Linked DNA regions of Homo sapiens: all the other regions are linked to region 3. Evidence: promoter capture Hi-C in human tissues and cell types (Jung and others, 2019). All regions are on one chromosome and are shown on one strand. Each heading gives the region's core, a stretch centred on a gene start or on the middle of the fragment in contact. The rest is flanking DNA. Distances are from core to core; before and after follow the strand shown.

Region 1 (3,433 bases), core at 257-2,756, 200 kb after region 3:
AACTTGATTCTACTATGAAGTATAGTCTTATACTATGCTGTAAACACATGTCCCTAGAAAAGTTTTTGATGGTTCACTTTTATTCATTCAAAAGACTGCAGATGGGCGCTCTCATTGTAAAATTTTCACTCATTTTGATAATAATCTTATATTCAGGTTCTTGGTAGTTTTCTGGATATGATTTTATTCTATTAGATCACCAACTGATAGAAATTTCCATATAATGAGCTGTCACATCTTAGCATTTACAAAAGATCTGGACATTTCATCCAGTCTGACAACTTATTTCACTGTGGTGGAGAAGTCTTTGTTTTTCAGCTTCAGACTTCCATTGCTAAATAATAGTTTTTTATTTGAAATAAACATGTTGCCATTTATCCCTACACTTTATATGTATGAATAATCTTGACTTTTAAATTAGTTTAAAAATCGGTTAAAAGTTAAAAAACTAAAAATGTGATTTGGAGGACATCAGAATAATGATATATTTCTGATATGTATTTGTGTACATACTTAAAGAGAAAGATGCATGTTAAAACTTTCACAAAACACTTGTACTTCCTCTGTTTAAGGCTCTGAGCTAGAAGTAGTAGGATTCTGAATAGGGCAAGCCTATATTGGACTCCATCCAAAGGTTTGTATATATTGAAGTATCAAAAGAGCCTTCATCTTTTCATCTTTCATGAATGGTTTTACCTCTAAAATGGTCCCATTACACAGACCTAAGAATAGAATTTGAACGACATGTCATTTTGTTTTTGTTTTTTTATGAAAATCTGTAGCTTTCTTGGCCTTTTGAAATGGTAACTGGGTAGAGCATTTCAGTGTATTATTAAAAACTTGATAACTTAGAGCAAAATAGACCCGTTACTCTAGAAATCTTATTTTTGTGACAATTCCATATGTAGAGCTTAATCGTGTAATTTTTGTGATGTTGCTGGTTTGCCCCTTTGAAGCTTGACCTCAGAGATGATGTGGTGAAAATTACAATCGATTGGAACAAGCTCCAGAGCCTCTCGGCATTCCAGCCTGCATTGCTCTTTAGTGCACTTGAACAACACATTTTATATTTACAGGTAAATTTCTTGTTAGAAATGATAACCCGATATTGAAAATAGAAATTGATTGTGGTTAAGTTAGTTGGAGTATTTGACAGTTCTAAACACTATATTAATAGTGTTGCTAATAAAACGTTATTTACATCCGGATTTAATCTAAATCTGTTAATTTCAGTAGTGATCAGGACAGTTAAGGGAATATAGCCCAAAAGACCAATGTGGGTATGAGTGAATGAATGCAATTCTATTCAATTCTAGACCTGCACTGAAAATTCAATACAGTTCCATCTATGGTGGGTTATAATTAAGCAATAAGACACGGCAGGTGTGTGTCATGCTATGATAATGATTCCATGCCTTGGGTGAGTTTGGAGGCTCATGGAGTGCTTTCAGTGGTTCAAGAAGGGGCATTATCCCAGCATGACACATCCTGGAGTGTCTATTGCAATTAAACAGTTTCAGCATAGTTTTTAAAAAGAAAGTAATTTCTATGACATTAATGTCTCATCTTAGTAAGTAGCCAGTCACTATTTTATCATTTCTTTTCCTTAACAGTTTGAAATAATTCATTCTTTATATTAGAAGTTAATATTGAATTGGTATTTATAATAGTGTTGTTATATTTTTAAATATTTCATGTTAATAACTGAACAGTATTATGACCTTGCTGGTTTCTAATTGAACATCTTTGCAATTATAATTGATGTAAGTTTGCAGTTTATCTCTAATCAAAGTGTAAAATGTGAAGTGTCAAAAAGATAAGTGGAAAAACTGGATTGGTCAGTTTACTGTGATTAAGGTGTTATAAGATTTCAAAAGAGTAGTATAGCGAACAATGGAAGCAAAATTGTAGGTATGAAAAAAATAATTGGAACGTTATTAGTGTTAGTGTGTTTTGACTAATGGAATAGGCATTAATTTTCAGCCCTCCATTCATTGACTTTGTGGGAAATTTTAACTGTTTCATGTTAAAAGTAATAGTTAACCCTGTTTTTAAAGGGCAGAGCAGTGAGCTCTAGAACTCAAATGAGACCTCATTGTGGGGAGTGGGGGAGGGGAACAGTAAATGAGTAATATAGTTTAAATTCTACAACAGGGGTTTTCCCCCTGTAGTATAGTGATAGGCCTCTGCCTGTTTTCAGCTATAGATCTTTTTTTTTTCTTGTTCGTTTTCTTTTTTAAAATTTAATTTTATGACCAAAAGATATCTTGCCATGTCAGGAAAAGTCTGAGTGTTCACTCAGCCTAACACCTATATATTTCATGTCTATGCTTCCTCATTCACATTGGCCAACTGCAGTTTCAAGTGGAGAATCTCCAGTGATACAGTGATAATGCAGGGCTTTGCTGAGTGAGAGCACTAGCTCTCGTGTTAAGGAGGAAAAATACTAAGCCTTAGTGTTCTGAGGAGGCATTTGAATGACATGTTAATTAAGTGGCATTGGTGCCAGAGGCTGAAGGCTTTGATTTGGCACAAAATAAAAGATGAGTGACAGAATGATTCTCTCAAAGAAAATTTTAAATTTCCTTAGGTTTTCTTTTCTTTTTTCTTTTCTTTTTTCCTCTCTCCTTTTTTAAAAAACAAATTTATAGCAAATGATAATGGTTACAATAGCAGAGAATAGTGAGTACTTATATGTGGTCAGATCTATGTGTCCTGGTATACCAACTTTTTATATTTATTAACTGATATTAAGTATTTCATTTACTTAGCAGAAATTTATGTAAATATATTAAGTGTGTAATTAATTTTGGTCAGATTGAACCTCAGCAGATGGAATTGTGTTGTTCTCAGCCTTTTTTAGCAAAACTTCAGTCTCCGATTAAAGAGGAGAATACAACTGCTGTTGAAGAGATAGGAAGAACAGAAATGGGGAACAAAAATGAAGTAAATGACAAATTTTCCATTGGCGACCTACAAGAGGAAGAAAAGCACAAAGAAAGTGATTTAAGAGATGTGAAAAAGACACAGATCCATTTTGATCCAGAAGTAGTTCAGATAAAGGCTGGAAAAGCAGAAGTAAGAAGGTTTTTTGGCGGGGGCGAGAGGGTATTATTTTAAAAAATCTTATGTTTACACTGTTAAAACTTGTTGTTTGTAGATTGACAGACGAATATCTGCATTTATTGAAAGAAAGCAAGCTGAAATCAATGAAAACAACGTCAGGGAATTTTGCAATGTTATTGATTGTAATCAAGGTAACTACCTGGAAATTAATTTTCATAGGGTTTTAAGCACAATTTTTATAGTTGCTCTAATCTTTTATTTATTTTTTAAATGAATAGCTTTTAGAACACAATTCAATTTATTTCATGGATTTAGTTAGTAATTAAGACAGTAGAGTTTCCTTCTGCTTAATAATAGACTATATTGC
Region 2 (3,532 bases), core at 381-2,880, 130 kb before region 3:
TTTTTAAAATGTTGTTTTCTCATTAAAATTCCATGAAATACTTGAAAGCACACCAGGAAACTAAGCATAACATTACCAAGAAGAGTTCCAGCGAGGTCCTAAAGAGTTAGCTTTCTTCATCTAGATTCCTAAACCCATCATAAATGCATATATGCCTGGATCAATCTTGGAGCTTATATTTTAAACAATCCGTGAAAAAGTATATCCAGACTTTTACATGTTTTGGAGAAATCACCATGCAGCTAACACAAAGTCAACCTTTGCCATCTGTACTTGCTCACAAATCCCCAAAAGCAGGTAGATTGGCCTTAGCTACACAGCATTAAGGAAACACGAGCTTCAGCCAATCCAAAGTGGAGTTTGGAGCGATGAGAAGCCACTCAAAGTTATCAGTGTTCTGTGGCTGTTCTCTGATCCATGGTTTAAGTCCACTCATACAGTTGGACCAGAAATGATGATTTTGACAAACTCCAGTTTATCTCCTGGAGCTTTCTTGGAACATCAGTTTGGGTTATTTTCTGTAGTATAGTTGTACGTGCCAATCTCAGGGCAGCTGCCTTTCTTTAAGCTCATGACTGAGGGTGGCAAGAGGTAGTGATTAGTCATCTAACCTCTCAATAGCTGTAAATACTAATTGAATATTTTGAACAACTCTTCAGGTCACATGACAACATGTGGCCATTTGCTTCTTAGACTTCTATTGCATAGCTCGGGGAGCAAATATTCTTTAATAATTGTTAAATATATCTTACAAATCTTCCAAAGAGGAAAAAGTCTCCATCCAAAATTAAACACAGGTTATGTGCTAAAAATGGGCAGTTGGAACTAAAACATAGCTGTTATTATCTTTTCTACAATAACATTTACACACTATTAACTTTTCTGCAATAACGGAACATTAAAGAATAAAATGTAAATTTTACTGCTTTATTTGCAGGGATGAAGGTCAGAGTGTCAAATTGCAGATTTTGGATCCTCAATAATGGGCCGCTGTATTTAACCTCTTCAACTTCTTTTCTCCACTTATAAGAAGGAACAAAATAAAATGTTTTGTGGAAGTTTATATTGAAATGAGGTCAGGTAAACTAATGACTGCTTGGTATTTTATGACAAGTTTTATAACCTTGGAGTTGCCATAACTTTCAAACGATCATCAATAAAGTTTTATTGCAAAAGGGTCGCCATGTGTCTGAATGCTTTTGCACATAGTAAAGCTATGCTGCCCCATTGTCGTAGCTCACCAGCCCCTTTTCACCCCAGCCATAAAGTCCTCTTCTTTTTTATTGGAGGTTGAAAAGTCCTCGGGTCTGCTCTCCTCCATCAAGTTGGCAATGTGGGAACAACACAGAAATTAAACTACATGATTAAATGATCGTACACAACCAAATCTTCAAGAATATGTAATAAGACTGCTTTTTAATAATTATAAATTTGGATTTTAAATGGGTTCCATTTAATAAAATAAATGACAGTGGGCGGCGGGTGGGAAAGGAGGAAGTCAGATGAGAGTTTCCTCCAGAAACTTGTGTTTGAATGTTAGATAAGACCTATCAGTCTACCCGATATACCCAGAGGGCTGCCATTAAATAATTAGGTGCTTAGGGACCGATAATGGTCTCAAGACAAAACAACGAATTGCTAAAGACTCTTTGAGCTGACCCGAGGATCTTAAAGATTTAAGAGGCCTCGCATTGCGTCCTAACTTGAATTTTCCCACGGAGGGAAGGGTTGGGCTACAGCTCATGCTTGCCCGATTGCTGCCTAACACATTCCCTAAACGCTCCCTAAAGCCAAACCAAGAACTTCAAGTGTCCACTTCACGGCATCAGCTGTCAGGTTCAGGTTCGGGTCCGCCTACTCCTTGTCCACTGCCGAATGCTATGTGGAAATGAAGCCGAGAATAATGTCCTGCGATTTAGATGAAGAGAACAGTAAGAAAGGTAGTATGAAACGAAGCTTCTACTGACGCGCCCTTCAGACAGGTATTCCGCAGGCGAGGGTTGTGACCCAGGGAGAGAGTGCGGGAGTGCTAGCAGAGCGGCGGGAGCGGAAGGAGAGGCTGGACGAAAGTTGGAAAATCATCCCATCTCGGGACTTGAGTGCGAGAGCCCGCCCCGGAGTCGGCAAGTCTCCAGGGTTAGAAGGCCCTAGCTCCAAAGTTTTTTGTCCCGGCTCAGGCAGGTCCCCCACCTCTAACCTTCCCCGATTTGCCTGGTTGCTCTCGGGGAAGGGACTGGTAAATACCGCCCTCTCCCGGATTTCCTGAAACTCTCACCAGCGCGCTGAACCCGCTCCTTCCCACGTTCGGCGCCCCGCACTCTGCGTCTGCGCCCACTGCGCGTCACCTTCCCTCCGGCCGAGACCACTAGAGCCCTAGATCCGGGATCTGCGGAGGGAACAGGACCTGAGCCCCTGCTGGACCCTGCAACTTGGCTGCGGAGAGCGCGCAGCCACAAGCGCCGTTCCTCACTTGAGGGCTTCGCGAGAGCTGGCTCAGCCCCGCGGGTCCCCGCCAGTCCTCGCCAGCCCTCGCCAGCCCCGGTCGGCCCCACGCTAAGTCCGCAGCAGGCGGGAAACCCCGCAGGCCTTCCCGGACTCACGAACTGCCTACTCCCACCCCTAAAGAGCTCAGACCTGAAGGTGCTCTTATGGTGCGTGGCCGCAACCCCGGAGTGGAATGGGTGGGGGGCCTCCATGGCGAAGGAGACGCCGTGGGCGAATCGGCTCCCAGCTCGCCCCTCATGTCCTACAGGTCACTAGCCGAGTCCCTACCCCGGGCGCTCCCATGAGGCACCAAGAGCAGCCACGGCCCAGGGAAGGGCCTGGGTCTTCACTGCTGGAGCGGGCCCCAGTCGAGGGCGCGCAGGTGTCGGGGTCCCCAGCAACCTCCGTATGCGCGGAAAGCCGTAAACGGGGTTCTGAGGCCGGCGCCAGGCACAAGGATCACCCCGCGCCACGGGCCACGGCTCAGAGCGCCCACGAAGCCCGGCTGCCAGGTCCAGGCCGCGGCCGGGCGGGACCCACTCGCTCCCCACGGTGCTGGCGCGGCGGGAGTCGGGCTGGTTAAGGCGGGAGGCCGGCACTGCCACGGGCTGTGGCGCCCCCTCCCGAAGACACCTCGCCGGAAGTGCGGCTCCCGCCTGGCAGGCGCTGAGACTCCTCGGCTGTAGCGCGAAGGCCCCGGTCCGCGCAACTTCCCATAATAACGCCGCGAAATGCCTCCAGAAATGCCTGTGTGGTATGGTGTCTGAGCCAATGGTCGGCATTCGTCTTCCCCAAGTGCGGAAAAGAGGATCCCAGCTCCCCGGGATGAGCTACGTACCCACACACGCACGCCGGCCCCTGTGCCCCCGTCAGGGGAAGCGCAGAAAGGCGGGGACTCCCCGGGACGCAACTGCCTAGTATCACCTACCAAGAGAAGTTACTTTTTTTCCGGGATCACAGAACCCCCCCTTCACGTCCCCAAGTCTCCAGCAAGAAGTGGGAGAGGACGTGTGTGGCTCCCCAGAAGCAGGCTCCAAGTTGTCCCGGG
Region 3 (3,330 bases), core at 126-2,625:
ATTATAGAAGTTGGCTTTGTATTGAGGGAGTAAGAGCTCTCTTCAAGGAGAGGGCTGAAATCTTTAAAAATAAATAAAACTTTCTCTACTGTAATTGCTATTAATAAAAAAAGGGAGCCCGGATGAATTAAGTAGCTCAAAACTGCCTGTTCGTCATGATCAGGAGCTCCTTCTCTACAAGGAGGGGAAAGAAAATGTGAAAACAAAAACTAAATTCAAGAAGCTCCTTGACCAGCGCGGGTGTCTTGGAGGCACCTGCCGGGGCCGGCCGGGGAGCGCTCCGCCCTCCCAGCCCCTGGCGCGCAGAGGAGACTAAAACAGCTAAGGAGAAAGCAAAACAAAAACAATGATAAAAACGTTTAAAATCCAAGGACAAAAACCGGAGTCGGTCTCAAAATCCGCGCCGTTCAGTGCTCCACTCGGTAGTCGACTCGGCTGCAGGCCCCGGCCTGGCCGGAGCAACGCGGGGGACACCCCCGATTCCGCTGGGGAGCGCAGCCCACAGCTCCCCCTCGCCAGGCGCCCAAGGACCCTCAAGGCGCGGGGCCCACACTTGAAGCCTGGGAACGCGCAGACAGGAAACCCTCTTCCTCCTAAGCAGTTTCTTGCTCGTCGGATGAGAGGCGCCCAATTGAAGCAGAATGATCCTCATCTACTAATATCCAGCGTGGCCACAAAGCGACTGGCCATTTACGCCACCACTTTAAACAAAGATATTTGGTTATTCCCGGGAAGCAAGAGCACTTTTGCATGGCTGAGCTGCGGGCGGAGGCGAGCCTCGGCCCAGCCTCCCGCCCGCTGAGCTGCCCGCACCTCGGCATTCGCCCCCTCCTGGCCAGCGCTCCAGCCGCCGGGGTTCAGGCTCAGTTCCGCCCGGCAACAGACAGACGGGCACTCACGCCGCTCCCTGCTCGCGCGCTCCCTGAAGCATCAGAGGGGAAAACAGCGTGGCTCTGGGCTCGGGTGCTGGGGCTGTGATGTCCTCGGAAAGTCAGCTCCAGCCCCAGATCCCCGCGTGTCTGGGAGATGGGCGAGGGTCAGGGACACCAGGTTTGTTCGAGGTGGGGCAACTTCAGTGACGGACCCTCCCGTGAGACCCCTTCCCATCCTCCCAGCTCTGGGGGCCAGTGCTGTGTTTGCTCGGCCGGGGGTGGGGGGGGGGGGGGAAGACCTTGGGGGAGGCGTGTTAGCGGGGGTGGCCCACTGAAAAACCCCTGAGCTGCGGGGGCGGGTTGTGGCTCGGGGATCCGGGACAGCCTCCGGGAGGCAGTCGATCCCCTACTCAGCGCCCCCTCCGCCCGCTCGGATTCTCTCCGGTAGGGGGAAAGGGGGCGGGGAGCAGAGGTGTCCCTCTGACGGCGGCAGAAGAGAGGCAGACAGACTGACAGACACGTAGACCAACAGTGCGGCCCCAGGGTTCGTCCCCAGACTCGCTCGCTCATTTGTTGGCGACTGGGGCTCAGCGCAGCGAAGCCCGATGTGGTCCGGAGGCAGTGGGAAGGCGCGGGGCTGGGAGGCCGCGGCGGGAGGGAGGAGCAGCCCCGGCAGGCTCAGGTGAAACCCCCACCCTGTCCCTCAGCCCCCTCCTCCTAAAGACCTGTCCGTGCCCGGGGAACCCCGACCGAATTGGAAAGTGGTTCCACTTTGTAACTCCGCAAGTTGGTTGCAAAGCAGCATTCACCTTCCTTCCTCTCAACCATCTCTCCTCCTCTGTTACTCCCCCACCCCACCTCCTGCCCTCCCCGCTCTCGGTTCCCTCCTCCTTCCCCTCCCCTCCACCTCCTCCCCGCGCTCCGCTGGTACCCCACAAAAAATGGGGGTGGGGGTGTCCAAGGGAGGGGGGAAATGCTTTGGGTCTCGTCTCTGCCTCTCTCTCTCTCTCTTTGAGACCTAAAAATCCTGACAAGTGAAACTTAAAGGTGTTTACCTTGTCATCAGCATGTAAGCTAATTATCTCGGGCAAGATGTAGGCTTCTATTGTCTTGTTGCTTTAGCGCTTACGCCCCGCCTCTGGTGGCTGCCTAAAACCTGGCGCCGGGCTAAAACAAACGCGAGGCAGCCCCCGAGCCTCCACTCAAGCCAATTAAGGAGGACTCGGTCCACTCCGTTACGTGTACATCCAACAAGATCGGCGTTAAGGTAACACCAGAATATTTGGCAAAGGGAGAAAAAAAAAGCAGCGAGGCTTCGCCTTCCCCCTCTCCCTTTTTTTTCCTCCTCTTCCTTCCTCCTCCAGCCGCCGCCGAATCATGTCGATGAGTCCAAAGCACACGACTCCGTTCTCAGTGTCTGACATCTTGAGTCCCCTGGAGGAAAGCTACAAGAAAGTGGGCATGGAGGGCGGCGGCCTCGGGGCTCCGCTGGCGGCGTACAGGCAGGGCCAGGCGGCACCGCCAACAGCGGCCATGCAGCAGCACGCCGTGGGGCACCACGGCGCCGTCACCGCCGCCTACCACATGACGGCGGCGGGGGTGCCCCAGCTCTCGCACTCCGCCGTGGGGGGCTACTGCAACGGCAACCTGGGCAACATGAGCGAGCTGCCGCCGTACCAGGACACCATGAGGAACAGCGCCTCTGGCCCCGGATGGTACGGCGCCAACCCAGACCCGCGCTTCCCCGCCAGTAAGTGAGGCCGCCCCACTGCGGGGCCGCGGGCTGAGCTCAGGAGGTGCGGCGAGAGCCGTCCAGAAGGCGCGGCGCCGGCAGGCTGCGCGCTGGGCATCAGGGAGGGCGGCCCGGCAGCGGCGCCAGGGACTTGGGTGCGGGAGCTGGGGATGCTTCCCCCTGCTCGGCTGGGGGTCCAAGAACAGGCACTTGGTAGCGCTGGGGTCCTGCGGTCAGATGCGGGTACTCGGCGTCTCCTAGGCGCGGTGGACTGGCAGCTCTGCTCGGCGCAGAAGACCTCGGGGAGCCAAGGGAAGCGACCCCGAGCTCAAGGAGCAGGGGCGAGCAGAGCGCGGAGAGGCTAGACCGGGCCAGGAGGGAGGCTGCCCTGTTGGGAGGCACTCGAGCGCCCGGCCCGGCCCTCTCTCCAGCGGAGTCTGGGCAGGTGGGAGGACTCGCAGTTCCAGAGGGGACTCTAAGGGTCCGAGCAGGTGCCCTCACTGGGGCCTGACAGGAGAGAAGCCAAGAGGCAAAGCGTCTGGGGGCTCCAGCTTTTGGAAGTCAACACCCCCTCTCCTAACCTCTCCAAACTGGGGTCTACCGTAGGACCCCAGCTCCCGGCCTGAGCCCAGTTCGCCGCCTGTGGCCAGCTAATCCTAATGCTCTGACCCGGGCTGGGCACGAAAGGAGCAGAAGCGGCCTTTCCCCCACTGCGTCTTTTGGTTC

What was found. Contacts are between HindIII fragments. The study calls those that stand out against the background at their distance.
Region 1: a fragment that was not itself captured here is called in contact with the fragment with the promoter of NKX2-1 in region 3 in 2 of the 25 tissues and cell types used here (aorta and dorsolateral prefrontal cortex).
Region 2: a fragment that was not itself captured here is called in contact with the fragment with the promoter of NKX2-1 in region 3 in 4 of the 25 tissues and cell types used here (H1 embryonic stem cells, heart right ventricle, mesendoderm cells and 1 more).

What each region holds. Positions count from the first base shown.
Region 1 is chr14:36,314,336-36,317,768 of GRCh38, reverse strand. MBIP (MAP3K12 binding inhibitory protein 1) reads left to right here. Exons shown (of 9, transcript NM_016586.3): 2 at 957-1,076; 3 at 2,854-3,078; 4 at 3,161-3,257. Among named protein-coding and RNA genes, the nearest start is that of MBIP, 4.6 kb to the left of the region's middle. The HindIII fragment of the contact is 5,986 bases long and covers 1-3,433 here.
Region 2 is chr14:36,646,843-36,650,374 of GRCh38, reverse strand. No RefSeq gene overlaps it. Among named protein-coding and RNA genes, the nearest start is that of PAX9, 13 kb to the left of the region's middle. RefSeq lists an enhancer at 2,194-3,023. The HindIII fragment of the contact is 7,467 bases long and covers 1-3,532 here.
Region 3 is chr14:36,518,277-36,521,606 of GRCh38, reverse strand. It overlaps NKX2-1 (NK2 homeobox 1), which reads left to right and starts at 1,375. Exons shown (of 3, transcript NM_001079668.3): 1 at 1,375-1,554; 2 at 2,237-2,622. The coding sequence starts at 1,478. It overlaps SFTA3 (surfactant associated 3), which reads left to right and starts at 2,051. Exons shown (of 5, transcript NR_161365.1): 1 at 2,051-2,139. NKX2-1-AS1 (NKX2-1 antisense RNA 1) reads right to left here and starts at 2,329. Exons shown (of 2, transcript NR_103710.1): 1 at 1,928-2,329. RefSeq lists enhancers at 1-959, 960-1,959, 3,118-3,330. The HindIII fragment of the contact is 7,239 bases long and covers 1-3,330 here.